2 separate regions of the Homo sapiens genome follow, and region 1 is linked to region 2. The links are contacts of gene promoters, found by promoter capture Hi-C in blood cells and fetal thymus (Javierre and others, 2016). All regions are on one chromosome and are shown on one strand. Each heading gives the region's core, a stretch centred on a gene start or on the middle of the fragment in contact. The rest is flanking DNA. Distances are from core to core; before and after follow the strand shown. Region 1 overlaps ITGB4 (integrin subunit beta 4). Region 2 holds the start of TMEM94 (transmembrane protein 94).

Evidence for each region. The method cuts DNA at HindIII sites, captures the fragments that hold promoters and counts their contacts. A CHiCAGO score of 5 or more calls a contact.
Region 1: a fragment that was not itself captured here is called in contact with the fragment with the promoter of TMEM94 in region 2 in 7 of 17 cell types (endothelial precursors, naive CD4 T cells, M2 macrophages and 4 more); the score reaches 6.6 in endothelial precursors.

What each region holds. Positions count from the first base shown.
Region 1 is chr17:75,743,041-75,750,367 of GRCh38, reverse strand. ITGB4 (integrin subunit beta 4) reads right to left here. Exons shown (of 40, transcript NM_000213.5): 26 at 6,507-6,655; 27 at 1,323-1,527; 28 at 100-257. Among named protein-coding and RNA genes, the nearest start is that of GALK1, 18 kb to the left of the region's middle. The HindIII fragment of the contact is 2,980 bases long and covers 439-3,418 here.
Region 2 is chr17:75,450,351-75,457,944 of GRCh38, reverse strand. TMEM94 (transmembrane protein 94) reads right to left here and starts at 1,310. Exons shown (of 32, transcript NM_014738.6): 1 at 1,194-1,310. RefSeq lists a silencer at 1,254-1,413 and enhancers at 1,564-1,613, 4,543-4,837. The HindIII fragment of the contact is 5,875 bases long and covers 1-3,796 here.

The DNA.
Region 1 (7,327 bases), core at 679-3,178, 290 kb before region 2:
TCTCTCAGGGGGCCCTGGCCTTGGACGGCCCACCTCTTCTGTGAGTGCTGGTGCCAGACCGCCCATCCACCTGTCGTGACCCTCAGCCCCCCGCCTTACCCTGTACCCCATTGGCTTGCCAGAAGGGGGCAGCCAGTTGAAATGGATCTTCCTGGACCCAGCGGCCTTAGCATTGGGGTTCTGCGGGGCGCCCAGGTCGCCGTGAGGGGGTGGCTGTGATGACAACATCTGACTCGTGAAGCTCCGGTCCAGTTCATCTAACGGGTCAGGTTGGGGCCGGGCAACCACTCAGATCCCCCTTCACCACCAGGGGGCGCCAGAGACCCACTTCAACACCCAGGGCGCTCTACCCAGCGCATTCAACTCAGACCTGCCCACCCGCGTCTCTGGAGACCTGGTGGTGCCCCATTGCTGCCACATAGAGCATCCTGCCAAGCTTGGCGGAGGACCCAGGAGGGTCTCTGGAGGAACAGAAGCGGGAGGGAGTTGGTCTGCCCCTTTCTCCCTTGGCAGCTCAGGGAACATTCCACATGAGAACATTTGCTCCCCACCCCATCTCCACACTGTACCCTGAGTATCTCCCTCCTCTCCCATCTTCCTGGCAGGCTTTCTCCCAGTTGGGAGGCTGAGGGCTGATAGGAACTAACTGGCCCACTCCTTCCTTCCACAAGCATCTGCATGTTAGTTGGAATTGAGGCTGAAGCCAAAGGGCCAGGGTCTGATGGGAGAATTCCTATTGTGTGGTGACAACAGCCTCTCTAGCTGTAGGGTTGCCAGATAAAATGCAGGATGCCTAGTTACATTTGAATTTCAGATAAACAACAAGATTATTTTTTCTTGGGGGACAGGATCTCATTCCATGGCCCAGGTGCTGTGCAGTGGTGCGATCACAGCTTGCTGCGGCCCAGACCCCCTGGGCTCAAGTGATCCTCCCACCTCAGTCTCCGGAATAGCTGGGACTGCAGGTGCACACCACTATGCCAAGCTAATTTGTTTATTTTTTGTAGAGACGAGGTCTCACTATGTTGCCCAGGCTGGTCTAGAACTCCTGGGCTCAAGTGATCCTCCCACCTTGGCCTCCCAAAATGCTGGGATTACAGGTGTGAGCCAGTATACCCAGCCCATTTTGCAAAAAAAAGGATAAGTATGTTCCAAATATTGCATGGGACATACTTATCCTACCAACGTGTATGTTGTTTACCTGAAATTCAGATTTACCTGGGCGTCCTGTGTTTGGATTTGCTAAGTCTGACAGACCTAGTTGAGAGACCCCCCAGTCTTCCCTCTCCTCCTGCTTAAGCCGACCCCCAGGCTCTGCCTACCTGGGTCCCTGATGATGATGGTGGTGGAGTGGGGCTGGCCCAGGTGGGCCCCAAACTTAGGGTTGCTGAGCTGGACGTGGAAACGGCGGACCTGGCGGCCCCGCAGGAGGGAGTCAACTTCTTGCAGCTCCAGGAGCTTCACCTGCAGCTCTTTCCAGGCCTCCCCAGGCTGGAACAGCAGCTCACCCTCCACGGGGATGTAGTCCTGGGAGTGGAGGGGGTCAGGGTCAGGGTCATGGCTGGGGGCTGAGGCAAGAGTCATGGCCACACGCTCCCTCCCAACCTCATGGACACTGCAGAGACCATCCCTGCTTGCTGGGTGGAGTACTTACACGAGGTTCAGGTTTTTGTGTTTTTTTTGTTTGTTTTTTTTTTTGAGGCGTAATCTCACTCTGTCACCTAGGCTGGAGTGCAGTGGCATGATCTCGGCTTACTGCAACCTCCACCTTCCAGGTTCAAATGATTCTCACACCTCATCTTCCTGAGTAGCTGGGATTACAGGCACCTGCCACCACGCCTAGCTAATTTTTGTATTTTTAGTAGAGATGGGGTTTCACTATGTTGGCCAGGCTGGTCTCGAACTCCTGACTTCAAGTGATCCTCCCACCTTGGCCTCCCAAAGTGCTGGGATTACAGACATGAGCCACCATGCCCAGCCACGTTTCTGTTTGTTTGTTTGTTTTTGAGACAGGGTCTCACTCTGTCACCCAGGCTGGAGTGTAGGGGCACAATCACAGCTCACTGAAGCCTTGACCTCCTGGGCTCAGGCCATCCTTCCCCTCAGCCGCCTGAGTAGCTGGGACTACAGGCGTGCACCACACCTGGCTATTTTTTTTTTTTTTTTTTTTGTAGAGGCACGGTTACCCTATGTTGCCTAGGCTGGTCTTGAACTCCCGGCCTCAAGCGATCCGCCCACCTTGGCCTCCCAAAGTGCTGGGATTACAGGCGTGAGCCACCCATCTTCCTTTCAGTGCCGTGGAGCATGCCTGAGCTTTCCAGGATAAGAACTGGGAGGAAAAAGAAAATCCTTCACATAGAAGACCACTAGGTGGCACTTCAGGGCAAGATTTCAATTCCAGGCGCAGCAGCCAGGGCGATGGCTGGGGAGGCAACCTCATGCCACCCAACTCAGAAAGTGAGACCCATAGTTGTAAAACAAACAAACAAAAAACAAACCAGGGAGCTGCCTGCAAGCAACCTACATGGATACTTCAAAAACGTCAGTGTCATTAGCCCGGCATGGTGGCCGGTGCCTGTAATCCCAGCTACTCGGGAGGCTAAGGCAGGAGAATTGCTTGAACCCGGGAGGCAGAGGTTGCAGTGAGGCACTGTACTCCAGCCTGGGTGACAGAGCGAGACCTTGTCTTAACAAAAGTCAGTGTCACGGAAGACAAAGCCAGGAAACTTTTCTAGATTAAAGGAGTCAAGACACGTGACAAAAGTCAATGCCAAATCCTTGATTAGTTCCTGCATTGGGGGGAAAAACGCTATAAAGGACATTATTGGGACATCCGAACAAGGGGACATTGGAATATGGACCTATTTTATTTTATTTTATATATTTTTTGGGATGGAGTTTTGCTCTTTTGCCCAGACTGGAGTGAAGTGGCGCAATCTTGGCTCACTGCAACCTCCACCCACTGGGTTCAAATGATTCTCCTGCCTCAGCCTCCCTAGTAGCTGAGATTACAGGCGTGTGCCACCATGCCCGGCTAATTTTTGTATTTTTAGTAGAGATGGGGTTTCTCCATGTTGGTCAGGCTGGTGTCAAACTCCTGACTTCAGGTGATCCACCTGCCTCAGCCTCCCAAAGTGCTGGGATTACAGGTGTGAGCCACCACGCCTGGCTGGAATATGGACTAATTTTAGGTACTAGTATAATCAATGTGAAGATACAGATGTCCACATCTCTATTTATATTTCTATGTTGCTATCTATATAGAAAGAGAGAGAAAGCAAATATTAGCAATCGGTGAATCTATGTAAAGGGTAAATGGGTGCTAGTTTTACTGTTCCTTCCATTTTTCTGTAAGTTGAAGTTTTTAAAAATAAAAAGGTGAGAAATTAAAATGTTTTAAAAAACAAATATCAAAGCTTTTTTTTTTTTTTTTTTTTTGAGACAGGGGTTTCACTCTGTCACCCAGGCTGGAGTGCAGTGGCACTATCTCGGCTAACTGCAACCTCCACCTACTGGGCTCTACCTCAGCCTCCCGAGTAGCTGGGACCACAGGTGCACACCACAACACCCAGATAATTTTCTGTATTTTTGGTACAGACAGGGTTTCGCCATGTTGGCCAGGCTGGTCTTGAACTCCTGATCTCAAGCGATCTGCCCGCCCTGGCCTCCCAAAGTGCTGGGATTACAGGCATGAGCCACTGTACCCAGCCTCAAAGCATCTTTATACAAGTGTAACAGGGTAGCCAGAAGGCAAGGCAAAAGGATCATGTTATCCTAGGAGTTTGAGACCAGCCTGGGCAACATGGCGAAACCCTATCTCTACTAAAAATATAAAATGGCCGGGCGCGGTGGCTGATGCCTGTAATCCCAGCACTTTGGGAGGCTGAGGTGGGCGGATCACGAGGTCAGGAGTTCGAGACCAGCCTGACCAACATGGTGAAACCCCGTCTCTACTAAAAATACAAAATTTAGCTGGGTGTGGTGGTGCGCACCTGTAGTCCCTGTTACTTGGGAGGCTGAGGCAGGAGAATCGCTTGAACCCTGGAGGTGGAGGTTGCAGTAAGCTGAGATCGCGCCAGCCTGGGCAACAGAGTGAGACTCCGTCTCAAAGAAAAAAAAATACAAAATTAGCCGTGCGGTGGTGGACATCTGTAGTCCCAGCTACTTGGGAGGTTGAGGTTGAAGGACTGCTTGAGCCCAGGAGTTCAAGATTGCAGAGAGCTAGGACTGTGCCCCTGTACTCCACCCTGGACTAGAGGGAGACCTTGTCTCTTAAAAGAAAAAAATTATTCTTTGGAATTTTTATGGGGGGACATTGGAAAAATAATGAGAACAGTTCCTGTCAATAAAAAGAAGTAAATAAAATTAGGATGTGGCCAGGCAGCCCGGGCCTGCTGACTACGCGCTCCCCTATGTTTGCTGAATGGGCCTGTGGGCCCAGGGAGGCGAGACTTTATTACTTTTGAGATAATTTTTTTTTTCTTTTTTCGAGACAGAGTCTCACTCTGTCGCTCAAGCTGTAGTGCAGTGGCATGATCTCGGTTCACTGCAGCCTCCACCTCCTGGTTTCCAGCAATTCTCCTGCCTCGGCCTCCCGGGTAGCTGGGATTAGAGGCACGTGTCACCATGCCCAGCTAATTTTTGTATTTTTAGTAGAGACAGGGTTTCACCATGTTGGCCAGGCTGGTCTCGAACTCGTGACCTCAGGCGATCCACCTGCCTTGGCCTCCCACAGTGCTAGGATTACAGGCATACGCCACCTCGCCTGGCCTTTATTATTATTATTATTTTTTTAAAATAGAGACAGGGTCTTACTATGTTGCCCAAGCTGGCCTGCAACTCCTGGGCTCAAGTGATCCTCCCACTGTGCCCTCCCACAGTGTTGGGATTACATGCATGAGCTACTGCACTGAGCCAGGTTTTGTTTCTTTGTTTTTTTGTTTGATTTTTAAAAAATTAATTATTATTATTTTTTTAGACAGGGTCTTACTCTGTTGCCTAGGCTGAAGTACAGTGGCATGAACATGGCTCACTGTAGCCTCAACCTCCTGGCCTCAAGTGATCTTCCTGCCTCAGCCTTCCAAGTAGCTGGGTCCACAAGTATGCACTACCATGCCCAGCTAATGTTTAAATTATATGTATAGACATGGTCTCACCACGTTGCCTAGGCTGGTCTTGAACTCCTGGGTTTAAGTGATTCTCCCACCTTAGCCTCCCAAAGTGCTGGGATTACAGGTGTGAGCCACCATGCCCCGCCTTTGTTTTTAATTATGGATTTGTTGCCAACATTTAAAAACTAGAAAGGCCAGGTGCACTGGCTTACACCTGTAATCCCTGCACTTTGGGAAGCCGAGGTGGGCGGATCACTTGAGATCAGGAGTTTAAGACCAGCCTGGCCAACATGGCAAAACCCCATCTCTTCTAAAAATACAAAAACTAGGCCGGGCGTGGTAGCTCACTCCTGTAATCCCAGCACTTTGGGAGGCCGAGGTGGGTGGATCACTTGAGGTCAGGAGTTCAAGACCAGCTTGGGCAACATAGCAAGACCCTGTCTCCCCCAAAAATTAAGAAGCAAAAAATCCCCACACAAAACAAAAGAAACAAAACTATGAAGCCTGTAAACCCAGTCCAGCCTGTGTGCCACCTGATTTGGCTGTACCCCAGCACTGGGGCTCAGCAGTGAAGGTGATGCTGGTCCAGCCATGGCACTCCCTGCCTTGAAGGGTTGCTCCTGCTGCTTGGCAAATTGTGACAGCCCTTGGGGAGTCTGGCCTGGGGACATGGGGTCTTCGATCCCAGCTCAAGAAACCCAAAGCCCCCTGGACTGGGGCATATAGGGGGAGTTTATCTCCAAGAGGTTTGGCTACCCTGTGGATCCTGAGTTGTAGGAGGGGACAGGAATGGTCTGGGCAGGTCCCTGGCCCATGAAGGAAGAAAGAGCCCTCTTGGGCCGGGCGCGGTGGCTCACGCCTGTAATCCCAGCACTTTGGGAGGCCAAGGCGGGCGGATCACCTGAGGTCGGGAGTTCCAGACCAGCCTGACCAACATGGAGAAACCCCGTCTCTACTAAAAACACAAAATTAGACATGCGTGGTGGCACATGCCTGTAATCCCAGCTACTAGGGAGGCTGAGGCAGCAGAATCGCTTGAACCCGAGAGGTGGAGGTTGCGGTGAGCTGAGATTGTGCCATTGCACTCCAGCCTGGGCAACAAGAGCGAAACTCTGTCTCAAAAAAAAAAAAAAAAAAAAAAGAGCGAGCCCTCTTGGCCTGAGTCCCTGGCAGCAATGGAGCCTCATCCAGCGTGTCACTGGCACCCTGGGCAGGTGAGACTCCCCTGCCACAGGGTGGCAGGAGCAGGTGGACGTGTCCTTGGGAGGCCAGCCAGGGGCACGGCCAGTATCCAGGGACTCAAGCAGCTGCCATGTGCTGCTTTGTCTTGGGAACCCAATGCGGTGCCCACGCAGCCCCCCGGGCTGCACCCTCGACCCTGTGGCGCAGCCTCACCCGGTTGCCCTGCGCGGTGCCATCCTGTGTGCGGTAGGAGACCTGGGACTTCCCGCCGTCCAGGACACGCCGGATGACAGGGATGCGGGCCACCTGGTCCCCGCGGCTGACCGAGAACTCAGGCTGCTCAAAGGACACCACGTCTCTGGCTGCAAGGAGCCCGGGCATTTGTCAGAGTGTGCTGGGCCCAGTCCCTTCCCACCTCCTGCTCTCCTGTGACCCTGCCCAGCCCAGCCCAGAATCCAGGAGTCCGCTTGGTTCCCTCTATGCATTGCCCTCTGGGAAGGGCACAGGAGCGAAACGGAAAATCCTTCCAGAAAAAGATGAGGGGCCGGGCGCAGTGGCTTGTGCCTGTAATCCCAGCACTTTGGGAGGCTGAGGCAGGTGGATCACCTGAGGTCAGGAGTTCGAGACCAGCCTGGCCAACATGGCGAAACCCCATCTCTACTAAAGATAGAAAAATTAGCTGGGCGTGGTGGCGAGTGCCTGTAATCCCAGCTACTCGGGAGGCTGAGGCAGGAGAATCACTTCAACCTGGGAGGCAGCGGTTGCAGTGAGCCAAGATGGTGCCATTGCACTCCAGCCTGGGTGGCAGAGCAAGACTCTGTCCCAAGAAAAAAAAAAGTGGTTCTGGAACAAAGTGTCCAGCAGACATCCTGGAAGGGCCAGGCAGAGGAGGGAGGCCAGTCACGGGCAGGACCAGAGATGGAGCCTTCAGCCCCAGGGCTGGAGGAGAGCAGGAACAGGCCTGAGGCCTGTGGCTTCCGGCACAGGTGGGAGGAGGGGTCAGATGTCCACGGTGTGATGCCTTGGCCAACCCT
Region 2 (7,594 bases), core at 61-2,560:
AATGCCCATCGCTTTTAATGCCCAGAGCCACCCTGCAAGAGCTCAGGGGAGTCAGGGAACTTGATCTCCTCAGGTCACACCTAGGAAACAACTAGGTCTAGCGGATAAAGAACTCAAGCCCCTGGACTTTCGGATTCTAGTTTGGCTCTAGGTGACCCTGGCCTTGCCTCTCCGAACAATCTCCACATCTGCAAAATGAAAATGTTAAAACTGCCCCCTCCCTGCTTCCATCTTCCAAGATTACCTGCGGAATAACAACTATGTCACTAAAGCTGAGCGTCTTGGATAAATCATGAGAAAAAGATCCTTCTCTCCAATGCATACACCCACATAGCAGAAGGAAAACAGATTCCATAACGAGCTCCCTCCTTTTTTCCCTCAAGAGCCACCGAAAAACTCAGGAGAGAGGGTGGGATGTAGCAGCACGTGACCAAGGCAACGCCAAAGTTTAGCCCGCGGTGACACACCAATGAAAGAGCGGGGCTTTGCTTGCATCTGGCGCTGGGCAGCGGGCAGGGGCCGCATCGTGGCATGCTAGGAACCAGGAGACCTGGGCTCCAGGGGTGTGCGGTACAGGAACGAGGGCATTCCACAGGAGTCACTTTATCCGATGGCATGGATGGTGAGCTTCCGAGGAGCCTGAAAACGCTTCTGGAAAGGCGGAAAGAAAAAAAAGCCCGCTCCAAACTGCAAGATCAGGGATGGCTGCCAGGAGCCCCTCGGCCGGCTCCATCCAGCTGGGGACGGCCGCGCGAGGACCCCGGGCGGCTGCGGAGAGCGCGCGCAGGCGGGACAACGGTCTTTATTTAGGTCGGGGATGAGGACTCCCAGGGGCCTCGAAATAAATACTCAGGGCGTCGGCGTTGGGAGCCCTCTGGGCCAGGGCCTAGGCACGACAGACCTGGGGCAGGGATTCTTTGTTGGCGAGAGGCTTTATTTCTGGCGAGAGACCCCACAATGGACCAATCCAGGGCTGAGAGCAAGAGTCTGAAGACTCGGGGGAAGGCAATGGTCAAGAGCTGGAGACTAGAGCCAGTCCCTGGACTCCCCCTCAGGAGGCATCCCCTTAAGCCGTTCTCTGGGTGCAGACCCCAGACTCCCCTTTCCTTGGCCAAGAATCCAAAGGACGCGCAAGGCCGAGCCCCACGCCCCCTTGCTCCCCACTTTCGGGCCACGGGCCTTCTCGTACTTACCGGGGCCCCGGGGCTGGTCTTCCTCGCCCGCGTCCTCTCCCCTCCCAACCCCCTCCTCACTTCACGTCCCCTCCTCCGGGGGCCGCAGCCATGTCCGTTACTGGCAACTCTAAGGGGGCTTGCCTCCCTTCCGGGCAACAGAGGCGCCGGCCAGAGAGCTAAAGTTCAGGCCACCGATTGGTCAGGATTTGAGAATAGGGGGAATTCTGGCTTCTTATTGGCTACGCGGCGTGCTAGGCTGTAGCTGCAACCGCCCCTCTGGGAGCCTGGCGGAATTAGGTGCCGAGTGATGCGGCCGGGAGAGTGAAGAGCCACTGTCCTTTCCTGTGCGTAAAGCTCAGGCAGTTTCTAGTCCAGAAACCCTGACCAGAGGGCATGGCTTTACCTCCGATTCGTTTTCCTACAGAATTATTCTAAAAAGATAGACGGCGCGCCCCACCTTTTTTCCCTTTCTTTTTAAAATAAGCCCTTTGCAGAGCTCCCCGCCTCTCTTAAGTTCTTCTAAGCTCCCTCCTTGTTGCCTTGAACAAATGCCTAGAGGCTGCCCGCTCCGAGAGGCCTTGGAGGGACTCCCTCAGGACGAATATTGCGTCCAAACCAAATCTAGAAAATCTAAGGCAATACTGCAATTCCCCCCTCCCGCTTCCAGCTCGGCTGAAATCTAAAGGGAAAAACAAGTTAAATTTTTTTTCTAGGTAATTAGATAAATCGCCTGGGAGACCTCTCTTGGGAAAACAAAGCAAGCCTGTGTCAGTATTTACTTCTCTTTTCCCAGAGATCTAAGTCTGGAAGGCTTGTTTAAAAAAAACAAAAACAAAAAAACAAACAAAAACTTGTTTATATAATTGGGAAAGAGCTGAGGTTGGCCTTGTGAAGTAAGAGCCCCTTCCCACATTCATGAGTTTAATTACGTAATTAAAATCCCTTTCTCAGCTGGACAAGAAGATGGCATTTTAGTACCTAATCTTGTATGACCCAGTTTAGCTGTTGCCTAAAACGCCATAAGAATCATGTCACTAACCTGCACACAAAAACTGATAGTTCACCTTTGCAAATAGGTCCAAATCTTTCTGCCTGATGTTCAAAGTCCTTCATAAATTGACTCAGACATACGTTTCCAGGTCTAAGTCCCCACAGGCTAAACTATTCCTGCAGCCACATAGATTAACCACCATTCTTTAAACGTGACAGAGACCTTTCCACCTCTGCTCCTTCGTCACATGGTTGGTTCCCTACGCTTTGCTTTAAAGGTTCTTTTTTTCTTTTTTTTTTTGAGACGGAGTTTCGCTCTTGTCGCCTAGGCTGGAGGGCAATGGCTTGATCTCGGCTCACTGCAACCTTCACCTCCCGGGTTCAAGTGATTCTCTTGCCACGGCCTCCGGAGTAGCTGGGATTACAGGTGCCTGCCACCATACCCAGCTAATTTTTGTATTTTTAGTAGAGACAGGGTTTGAACATGTTGGCCAGGCTGGTCTCAAACTCCTGAGCTCAGGTGATCCACCTGCCTCGGCCTGCCAAAGTGCTGTGATTACAGGCGTGAGCCACCGCACCCAGCCTGACGGTTCTTTCTTATCAGTAAAGCCAGCATGCAAATAAATACTTAATCAACCTAAAGGCCCACCTCAAATGCTACCTTTCTTGACTTTTATTTTTTCTTGTATGTATGTACATATTTATTTATTTTTAGAGCAGGGTATCACTCTGTCACCCAGTCTGGCAAGTGCAGTGGTGCCATCATAGCTCACTGCAGCCTCGAACACCTGGGCTCAAGCAATCCTCCCACCTCAGCCTCCTGAGTAGCTAGGACTACAGGTGCGAACCACCACACCCAGCTAATTTTTTTATTTTTTATAGAGATGGGGTCTTGCTATGTTGCCCAGGTTAGTCTCAAACTCCTGGCCTCAAGCAATCCTCCTGCCTCAGCCTCCCAAAATGCTGGGATCGCAAGTGTGAGCCACCACTCCCAGCCTCTCCCTGGGTTTTAGTCATTGACTCTCTCTATATATAATGCTGGGCCTCCTTCTCTGTGTCTGCATTGCCACCTTTGCAAAAGTCTGCTTTATACAGCATTGCTCTTTTTGTAAGACCTCAAACTCCCTGCGGGCAGCTGGCTTATCTTAGCAGTTTCCACAGCACCTTACTTGCTGCCTTGTATCCATTAACATTTGTTGAATTGAGCTAGCAGGCTACCTATATATTACATCTTTCCACTTGACCCCTTAAGATCTAGTTGGCTGCCTTTGGAAGATTAACAAATGTAGCACAGTCACTTCACTTTGAACCTCTCAGCCCCCTCTGGCCACACTGGTTTTTCAGCTCCACTGGGTTTTATGAATATCACTCAATGAAATTGCACTGAATGCCTGCTAGTTTCAAGGGCTCTGCAACTCTCCATCTGCCTGACCACTTCCTCTGTCAGTCCCCTCAGCCATAAAATTTTGCTACATGAGTAAATCAAATCACTCAAGCCAGAACATGCCAATGTGCCCACTCTAAATTCACCCTGAATTAGCTTTGCAGATCTGAGGTCCCTTAACCAAGTCTTGTTGGTTGTCTAGCAACCCCAAGCAGCTATACCAATCCTTCTTCATTTTTCTGAAGCTTCCCGTGTCTTCAGATGAGTACCAAGATGAGTCTATTGAGAAGAAGACCAAGGCCTTCCCTTGGAGATTTCTCATCTACTTCATCCACTTCTCTTTCCCTTTCTATGTTCCTGCAGGAAGACAGCCTTTTCCTCCTTTTCCCCATCTGTGTTCTCAGTCCCTCCCCCTCCAGCCTTACATGCCATTTCCCTTAGCTCAGGAGTGTTCAATCTTTAGGCTTCCCTGGGCCATGTTGGAAGAAGAATTGTCTTGGGCCACACATAAACTACACTAACACTGCTGGGCACGGTGGCTCACGCCTGTAATCACAGCACTTTAGGGGGCTGAGGCGGGCAGATCATCTGAGGTCAGGAGTTCGAGACCAGCCCGGCCAATATGGTGAAACCCTGTTTCTACCAAAAAATACAAAAATTAGCAGGGCATGGTGGTGCATGCCTGTAGTCCCAGCTACTCGGGAGGCTGAGACAGGAGAATCACTTGAATCCAGGAGGCGGAGGTTGCAGTGAGCCAAGATCGCGCCACTGCACTGCAGCCTGGGTGACAGAGCAAGACTCCGTCTCACAAAAAAAAAAAAAAAAAAAAAAAGAAGAAGAAATGTGTTCAAGAGATAGTTAGCAGGTAGAACAGGCACAGTCTAGTGGCTGGACTTAAGGTTTAGGGTGAAGGAGGAAGGGATAACTCGATTTCTGCACCTCAGATCTCATATCATCTGAGTTACAATGACAGAAGCTACCTCTGCCAGCTCCAGATTACCTGGTCAAGGCCAATTTAGAGCATAGTACTGGACAAAGCATCAGCGAGAAAACACTCTTGTTTATCTATAAGATTTCCCTTCATCTAAACAGAGATATGAGAAGTGAGTCAGAAACGAGAGTGATCCAGCAGGACTCATTCAGGCTGTTGAGCCAGGAATGACGTGCAGAATCACACACAAGCAGGGCAAGGTCCTCCCACACCCTGACCTGAGCATCCTTCCTCATTGCACCTTTCTTTTTTTTTTTTTTTTTTTTGAGACTGAGTCTCGCTCTATCACCCAGGCTGGAGTGCAGTGGCGCGATCTTGGCTCACTGCAACCTCCGCCTCCAGGGTTCAAGTGATTCTCCAGCCTCAGCCTCCCCAGTAGCTGGGATTACAGGCATGTGCCACCATGCCCGGCTAATTTTTGTATTTTTAGTAAAGATGGGGTTTCACCATGTTGGTCAGGCTGGTCTTGAACTCCTGACCTCGTGATCCACCCACCTTGGCCTTCCGAAGTGATGGGATTACAGGCGTGAGCCACCGCACCTGGCAGCCATCTTTTCAACCTAGTCATTTGTTTAAAAGTAACAGGAGTAGGCTGGGTGCAGTGGCTCACTTCTGTAAGCCCAGTCCTTTGGGAGGCTGAGGTGGGTGTATCACCTGAGTTCAGGGATTCAAGACTAGCCTGGCCAACATGGTGAAACCCTGTCTGTACAAAAATACAAAAATTAGCTGGGCGTGGTGGTGGGCACCTGTAATCCCAGCTACTCCGGAGGCTGAGGTGGGAAACTCACTTGAAGCTGGGATGTGGAGGTTGCAGTGAGCCGAGATAGCTCCACTGCACTGCAGCCTGGGTGACAAAGCAAGACTCCATCTCAAAAAAAAAGAAAAGAAAAAAAGGGAGCTGGGTCCGGTGGCTCATGCCTGCATGCCTGTAATTCCAGCACTTTGGGAGGCAGAGGTGGGCAGATTGCTTGAGCCTAGGAGTTCAAGACCCACCTGGGGAACATAGCGAGATGCCTTCTCTATTAAAAAATTTTTCAAAAGAGAAAAAAGTATATAATAAAAAAGAAATAATGGGCTTCGAATCACACAGGGGAAAGGTTTGGAGGGAGATAGCAATGGATGAAGACAGAGGCTGGCATTCGGGGTCGGGACTGAGGATACTTGCAATGTGAGGCCTGGTGAAATTATCTGAGCCGTTGATTCTTGAACAGGTAGTTCCCATGTTCAGCTTGCTCCATCGGCAAGAGCCTTCTGCCTAGGCCGGGCGCGGTGGCTCCCGCCTATAATCCCAGCACTTTGGGAGGCCGAGGCGAGCGGATCACGAGGTCAGGAGATCGAGACCATCCTGGCTAACACGGTGAAACCTCGTCTCTACTAAAAATACAAAAAAAAAATTAGCCGGGCGTGGTGGCGAGTGCCTGTAGTCCCAGCTACTTGGGAGGCTGAGACAGGAGAATGGTGTCAACCCAGGAGGCGGAGCTTGCAGTGAGCTGAGGTCACGCCACTGCACTCCAGCCTGGGTGACAGAGCAAGACTCCGTCTCAGAAAAAAAAAAAAAAAAGAGCCTTTTGCCTCTAAGTTGTGAGTGATATTTTTAGGAGAAGCTGCTCCTTTAATCCCTGCATCGTGTAGTAGTGATATCTCACTGACAATAGGCTCCTCTTGGGCCCTTTGATTCAACCAAGAGGTCCCACTGAAGAACATTGTTGTAAATACTGCCAGCGAGACAATTCTGACACGTCTTTGTACCCCTAAAGAGTGGTCTGGGCCAAGCCTGTAATCCCAACACTTTAGGAGGCCAAGGTGGGAGAGTCACTTGAGCCCAGGAGTTTGAGACCAGCCAGGGAAACACAGGGAGCCTCCATTTCTACAAAAAATTTAAAAATAAAAATAATTAGCCAGGCATGGTGCACAACTGTGGTGCCAGCTACTCAGGAGACTGACGTGCAAGGATCATTTGAGCCCAGGATGTTGAGCCTGCAGTGAGCTGTGACTGTGACACTGCACTCCAGCCTGGGCGACAGAGTGAGACCTGCCTCAGAAAAACAAAAAAGGGCTGGGCGTGGTGGTTCACGCCTGTAATCCCAGCACTTTGGGAGGCCAAGACAGGCGGATCATGAGGTCAGGAGATCGAGACCATCCTGGCTAATACGGTGAAACCCCATCTCTACTAAAAATACAAAAAATTAGCCCGGCATGGTGGCGGGCACCTGTGGTCCCAGCTACTCGGGAGGCTGAGTCAGGAGAATGGCTTGAACCTGGGAGGTGGAGTTTGCAGTGAGCCGAGATCGTGCCGCTGCACTCCAGCCTGGGTGACAGAGCGAGACTCAGTCTCAAAAAAACAAAACAAAACAAAACAACAAAAAAAGTGTGGTCCAGAAATAGATGGCACAACTTTACAACACAACATGAGCACTGGCCACACTACGGTCCCCATTCCCATACTGCATTCACAGTCTGCAAAAGTTAGATCCCTAGGTAACAATAAATGGCCACCCAAAGACATTGTTCATAAGCACCCCAAATGGGAAACAAACTGAATATCCACCAGCTGGGGAACAGGTACCCAAATGGTGGTGGATCTGAACAAGGGATTACTACTCAGCCATACACATAAGTGAATGAGGCTGGACGTGGTGGCTCACTCCTGTAATCCCAGCACTTTGGGAGGCTGAGGCGGGCAGATCACCTGAGGTCAGGAGTTCAAGACCAGCCTGGTCAACATGGTGAAACTCTGTCTCTACAAAAAATACAAAGCTAGCTGGGCATGGTGGCGTGTGCCTGTAATCCCAGCTACCCAGGAGGCTCAGGCAGGAGAATTGCTTGAAACCGGGAGGCAGAGAGCCAAGATCGTACCACTGCACTCCAGCCTGGGTGACAGAGCAAGAATCTGTCTCTCAAATAAATAAATAAATACGTAAGTAAGTAAGTGAATGAGGCCACTGATACACATCCCAATCTGAAAGAATCACACAAATGGCATGAGGAAGGGAAGAAGCCAGACATAACAGGTTATGTACCCTGCAATTCCATTCATATCAACTCCTAAGATGG